Linked DNA regions of Homo sapiens: region 1 is linked to region 2. The links are contacts of gene promoters, found by promoter capture Hi-C in human tissues and cell types (Jung and others, 2019). All regions are on one chromosome and are shown on one strand. The core of a region is centred on a gene start or on the middle of the fragment in contact, and the rest is flanking DNA. Distances in the headings are between cores, read along the strand shown.

Region 1 (3,252 bases), core at 707-3,206, 160 kb before region 2:
TCCTCCCTCCCCAGCCTCCAAAGTAGCTGGGACTACAGGTGCATGCCACCATGCCTGGCTATTTTGGTTTTGTTTTGTTTTTGTAGACACAGGGTTTTGCTATGTTGCCCAGGTTGGTCTCAAACTCCTGGACTCAAGCGATCCTTCTACCTGGTCCTCCCAAAGTGCTGGTTCCACTGGCGTGAACCACTGTGCCCGTCCTGGTATTTTCTTCATATTTGTGAATAAATACAGTTTTATTTATCTTTTTTCAGTCTGGACTGCCTTCTTTTTTATTATTGGACTGGCTAGAACTTCCCTACAATGCTGACTAGAAATGGCAAGAGCAAACATGCTTGCCTTATTCCTCATCGTATAGGAAAAGCATGCAGTATTTCACCATTAAGTATGATGTTAGCTGTAAGCTTCTTAGAGATGCACTTTATTAGACTGAGGAAGGTGCCTTCTATTCCTAATTTATTGAGAGTTTTTTTTTTATCATGAATGGGTATTGGATTTTATTGAATATCTTTTTTGTATCTAATGAGATAATCACATAAATTTTGTCCTTTCTCCTATTAATATTGTCTATTATATTAATTGATTTTCAAATGTTAAATCAACCTTGCATTCCACAGATACATCCCACTTGGTCATGGTATATAATTCTTTTTCTCTGTTCCTGAAGTTGTTTCGCTAATCTTTTGTTAAGGGCATTTGTACCTCTATTCTGTAGTTTTCTCATGATGTCTTTGGCTTTGGTTTCAGGGTAATACTGGCCTCATAGAATAAATTGGGAAGTGGTTCTTCCTATTCCTTCTACTGGAAGAGTTTGTGAAGAATTGATATTACCTCTGTCTTAAATGTTTGATAGACCACCAGTGAACACCTCTGGCCCAGGCTTTTCTTTGTGGCCAGATTTTATATTATGAATTCAGTTTTTTGTGGGTTTTTTTTTGCTTATTATAAGTCTATTAAGATTTTATATTTCTTCTTCTTGAATCACTTTTGGTAGTTTGTGTCTTTCTAGAAATTTCTGTTTCATTTGAGTTATCTGATTTGTTGCCATACAATTATTCCTGGTATTCCCTTATAATCCTTTCAACTGTTGTAGGGTCAGTAATGACATCCCCATATTCACTCGTTATTTATGCATTTGTGTTTTTTTACCTTTTTTCTTTTTTTTTTTTTTTTGAGATGGAGTCTCGCTCTGTCGCCCAGGCCGGACTGCGGACTGCAGTGGCGCAATCTCGGCTCACTGCAAGCTCTGCTTCCCGGGTTCACGCCATTCTCCTGCCTCAGCCTCCCGAGTAGCTGGGACTACAGGCGCCTGCCACCGCGCCCGGCTAATTTTTTGTATTTTTAGTAGAGACGGGGTTTCACCTTGTTAGCCAGGATGGTCTCGATCTCCTGACCTCGTGATCCACCCGCCTCGGCCTCCCAAAGTGCTGGGATTACAGGCGTGAGCCACCGCGCCCGGCCTTTACCTTTTTTCTTACGTTAGCTAAAGGTTTTTCAATCTTGCTGGTCTTTTCAAAGAAGCAACTTTTTGTTTCACTGATTTTTCTCTCCTGTTTTTCTATTTTCTACTGCACTGATTTTCATTTGAATCCTTAATATATTCTTCTTCTTGCTTTGGGTTAGTTTGCTCTTCTACTCGTGGATTAAAAATTGTTTTTAATTTTCAAAATACTTGGGTATGTCCCAATTTTATTTATTTATTTATTTTTTTGACAGAGTCTCACTCTGTTGCCCAGGTTGGAGTGCAGTGGTGCAATCTCGACTCATTGCAACGTCTGCCTCCCAAGTTCAAGCGATTCTCCTGCCTTAGCCTCCCAAGTAGCTGGGATTGCAGGTGTGTGCCACCACACCCAGCTAATTTTTATATTTTTAGAGATGGCGTTTCACCATGTTGGCCAGGCTGGTCTCGAATGCCTGACCTCAAGTAAGTCACCTGCCTCAGCCTCCCAAAGTGCTGGGATTACAGGCGTGAGCCACTGTGCCTGGGCCCGTTTTATTCCTGTGTTTGATTTACTATCATTGTGGCCAGAAAAACATACTTTGTGTTATTTCAATCCTTTTAAATGTATTGAGACTTTGTAAATGGTCTGGTATGTGGTTTGTATGTGTTGAAAATAATGCGTAGTCTGCTGTTGTTGGCTAAAGTGCTCTGGGGGTGTCAGTTAGGTCAAGTTGGTTCATATGATTGTTTAAGTTTTCTAGTGGCTATGGCTCGCCTCTCTGAATTCCAATCCCCTCCTCACCTTTCAGCCATTTTTTTTTTCTTGCTCAGCCGTTTGCCTTTTTAGCTGTTTTCAGCAGGATATTTGGCCTAAATTATCAAATCAGAAATTTCTGGAACCTATATTTCAACTTTTAATATAAAATTGTCTATTTCTAACAATTGGAATTAGACTAAGTGCCATTTCCAATAATGTGTGACAAACCCGTAACACAAAGTTTTAGTGGTGAAAGAGAATAGGCATTTAAATTCCTAGCAAAGTTCCCAAATGTGGCAGTTTCTTCCTTATTTCTAAAGCAATTTAAACTACAGTGTTTCTAATATATATCACCATAATTCTGTATATACAGGGCTTTTGATTTTCAGGCAAAAAAAAATTACTGGATAGACAAGGGTCATGAAATAAATATTATAAAGATATCAAAGTTCAATTAACCTGGTTAATATATCAAAAGTTGTCATAACCTCAAGGAGAAATTGACAAAGCCTCCATCCTAGGGAAAAAGTTTAACATGTCTCTCAGTAATTGATAGCTCAGCAGAAAAAATAATAATATATAATTTGAATAATACAACAAACAAGCTTGATCTAAGGAAAACACATATATCTCTGAGCCTCCAACAATTGAACAACTCACATTCTTTTCAAACACATACAAAATATTTATGACAACTGACAACATATTGGACAATTAAAGAATAATAATAAATTGAAATGATTTTTTACTTAATGTAACTTAACTACAAAATTAAATTAGAAATCAATATTTTAAAATTTAGCTAAAATATATTTTTGAAATTTAAAAATCATACCTCTAAATAAATCACAGGTCAAAAAAACATTGAAAATTAGAAAATTCTGGTCACCAAGATGGCAGAATAGAAGGTAACCTGCTCACATCTCCCCACAACAACAAGAATTCTGCGCCTATCCAGAATCAAAAGTCTCTCTGCCTCAGGATTCAGATAGGAGTTTGTGAAATATTGGTGGAGCCCAAGATCTTGGAGGATTATTTTGAGAGTGCAGACTAA
Region 2 (3,223 bases), core at 56-2,555:
TCCAGGTCCAGTTCTCATGCCTTCCACCCACCCTCTGGTCTTTCCCTTCAGCCTCACTGAGCGATCTCAAGAGAATTCTTTTTTTGTTTGTTTGTTTGAGACAGAGTCTCGCTCTGTCACCTAGGCTGGAGTGCAGTGGCACGATCTTGGCTCACTGCAACCTCCGCCTTCCGGGTTCAAGCGATTCTCCCGCCCCAGTCTCCGGAGTAGCTGGGATTACACGCACCCGCCACCACGCCCGGCTAATTTTTTATATTTTTAGTAGAGACCGGGATTTCACCATGTTGGTCGGACTGGTCTCGAACTCCGGACCTCAGGTGATCGGCTCGCCTCGGCCTCCCAAAGTACTGGGATTACAGGCGTGAGCCGCCGCACTCGGCCGAGAATTATCTCTTTAACAAGTTATTCAGCTCCAGAACCCACCAGGATGTACCCGAAAAGGTGGGAGCGCTGGGGAGAGGCAACGGAGGGCAGTGTCTGGGTTCGACTGGATTGGAAGACCGCTCCGCTCTCCCTCTGCGGCTTTGGAACAGCTGCCTTATCTGGCAGTGACAGGAGAAGAGGAAAAGGAGGGTGGTCTTCTTCCTCCTCAGAAAGGAGGCTAAGAAGGCTCTTCACTGTCGAAGCCTCTCAGGCAAACCCTTCTCTGGCCTCAGTGTTCTCACTCTCTGGGGCCCAGTCTGGGTGGCCTGGAGTCACGGGTGGGCAGAAGCGGCGTTTGTGTGAGCTGGGCGGGAGGGGAGAGGGAAGGGTTAGGAACCCTAATCACACACAGCCCCGTCCCGCCCCTGCCGCTTCGCCAGGTCCCTCGGGGGCTGTGGCAGGGGCTGCGCAGCGGCTGCCTCCGGCCTTGGCGAGTTCCTGGCGCAGGACTCGGAACCACGCCAGGCGTGTATCTATCACCTGAGAGGAAACCCTGGGCTTCTCGGAGTCCGCTCCAAGACACATGCCAGAGGCCCTGGCTCCATCTCCTCCACAGGCACTCACAGACTCGACCCTCAGCCCAGGATGACCACCCCTGGCCGTCCTCCCTCTCTGGGATCAAATCTCAGACATACATTCCGGGAAGTTTGGGGCATTCGATCAGCGTCCTCCAGAATGGACCACAACCCGCACCTCCTCGGCTTTGCCTCCGCCCTTCTCCCCAGACGACCTCACGACCGCTCCCGCTCTCCCTCTGCGGCTTTGACCACCGTGCCTGGTCAGCCCCGTGTCGCTCTTCGAGGAGCCTCTGCCGGCGGCGAGAGATCGCAAGCGCCACATCGCAGTCAGAACACAATGAGCTGGAGTCTGCAGCCGGGAGCCGAACTGCGCTTGCGCGTTGCCCTGGGAACCCTTGGGCCGAATTCCCACAAGTCTCAGGGCTGCTGCAGTTCCGCCGGCCAGACTCCACTTCCCAGAGGGACAATCGGCGGAGACAGTGCTGCCTTGCGCCTGCGGGAACAGGGCCCGGCCCCGGCGCTTTAGGCGCGGAAACTACCTTTCCCAGAGACCCCTCCACGCCGACCTCAGCGCGCTCATTGCAACTTACAGAATCGGTTCCGTTCCGTTCGCTTTAGAACCAGGTCTCTGCCTTGCACTAAGGCGCAGGAAGATGCAGATCAGCGAAAAGCTGAAGATGGGGCAAGGGAGGTTAGTCCAGGGGAGCGACGCCCGATCGCTGACGAGAGAGGATCGGGAGGGTCCGGAAGACGGAGTGGGAGGCGACAGGGCGCGTTCCTGACTGGGACCGCGCCGAAAAGGCCTGGAAGGCAACAGAATTGCCCCTTGGCCTGGCAAGCGCCCGACACTTCCAGCCTGGCACTGCGGGCGGGCCAGCGTGTGCTGGGGTGGCGACGCCACAGCCACTAACGCGTGTGCGGTGCGGGAGGACAAGGATGTCGGGCAGGGATGTCCTGCTTGGCACCTCAGGACAGAGCCCATGGTGGCTGGCGGCCCCTGGAATGTTCGGGACGCAGAACACTTCGTGCTTGGGAACTTCTCAGAGGTGGGGACGAGGGAGAGGAAGGCGCCTGGATGCCAGGAAGTCTCCATCTTGGACAGCTGGGTGGTATTTAAGAAGGTGGTATTTATTTTTGTCGACCATATTTTGCAGAGACTGGCAAGGATGAGATGATGCCTAAGAATATCCAACTGGAGATACTTAGTTGCTTTTGAATAGGTAATTTGCATGGAGCTCAGGAAGGAAAGATGAGAGGGTTTTAACTTTGTTGGTCGTTAAAAAAAATCAAGAATGTGACCTGTTTGTCACATACGGAATTGTTGGCCACGTTTTAGGAAGCAGTGTCAGTGACTACAGCATTCTGTTTGGAGTTTTATTGAAGATTTCATTCCATAGACACTTTGGAGCACTTATGTGTCAAGTGCTTGACAAGGCCAGGGTCAGCCGCTGTGCAGCCCCTGTAGCAGTTCCCAGGGACCCGGCAAAGCACCAGAGGGGGAGGATGTTGTGTGAGTATCGCTGGTAACCCTTCTCTCTCGCCTCCCTCGTGACTCCAGGTCACTCAAACTGGGCTCCAGAGAGTAAGAACCCCGAGTCCAGGGGCTGGAGAAATAGCTGTGAAAACCCTGCACTCATGGAGTTTTAATTGTACTAGAGGAGGGGTCAGACAAGTAGAAAGTATTTATCTGGTAGTGATAACACTACTGTTAGGGGTTAGGGTGTGATGGGGCGGGGAATTATTTCAAGCAGCAGTTTTGGAAGTTCTCTTTGAGGAGGTAACACCTGAGCAGAGATTTGAATACAGTGAGGGAAGAAACGATGTGACTGTATGGGTAAAGTGCCTTCTAAAGGGAGGGAACAGAAATGCTGACCAGAGAGAAGTGTGCTTGGTGAACTCCAGGCTTGGCAAGGTCAGTATGACTGGCGAGGGCCTACTGAACAAGGAAGACTGCGAGATGCTGTTGCAGGAGTAACTACAGGCCTTGAAGGAAGGAAATTTGGATTTATTTCTGTGCCTGGAAATGATTAGATTTGAAAGAGTGACATGGCTGGGCACGTTTTGATAGACGCACTGGTCAGCTTCAAAGAAGGCAGACAGTGGTGGGGCTAGAGGGGATACAGGAAGACCAATGAGGAGGCAATGACAGCAGTCCACAATTACAAGTAGCCTCCCACAATTATATAACCTTTCCACAAGGCATTTGCTTTGAGAGCCTAATGATTCTAAGATATTGAAGGGTTTTGGGTGCTATGCTCAGGAGTTTGGATATTATTGTTTTC

The links. Contacts are between HindIII fragments. The study calls those that stand out against the background at their distance.
Region 1: a fragment that was not itself captured here is called in contact with the fragment with the promoter of ZNF454 in region 2 in 1 of the 25 tissues and cell types used here (small bowel).

What each region holds. Positions count from the first base shown.
Region 1 is chr5:179,097,030-179,100,281 of GRCh38, reverse strand. No RefSeq gene overlaps it. Among named protein-coding and RNA genes, the nearest start is that of ZNF354C, 38 kb to the right of the region's middle. The HindIII fragment of the contact is 4,105 bases long and covers 1-3,252 here.
Region 2 is chr5:178,939,280-178,942,502 of GRCh38, reverse strand. ZNF454 (zinc finger protein 454) reads right to left here and starts at 1,305. Exons shown (of 5, transcript NM_001178089.3): 1 at 1,059-1,305. ZNF454-DT (ZNF454 divergent transcript) reads left to right here and starts at 1,488. Exons shown (of 1, transcript NR_186409.1): 1 at 1,488-3,223. The HindIII fragment of the contact is 17,658 bases long and covers 1-3,223 here.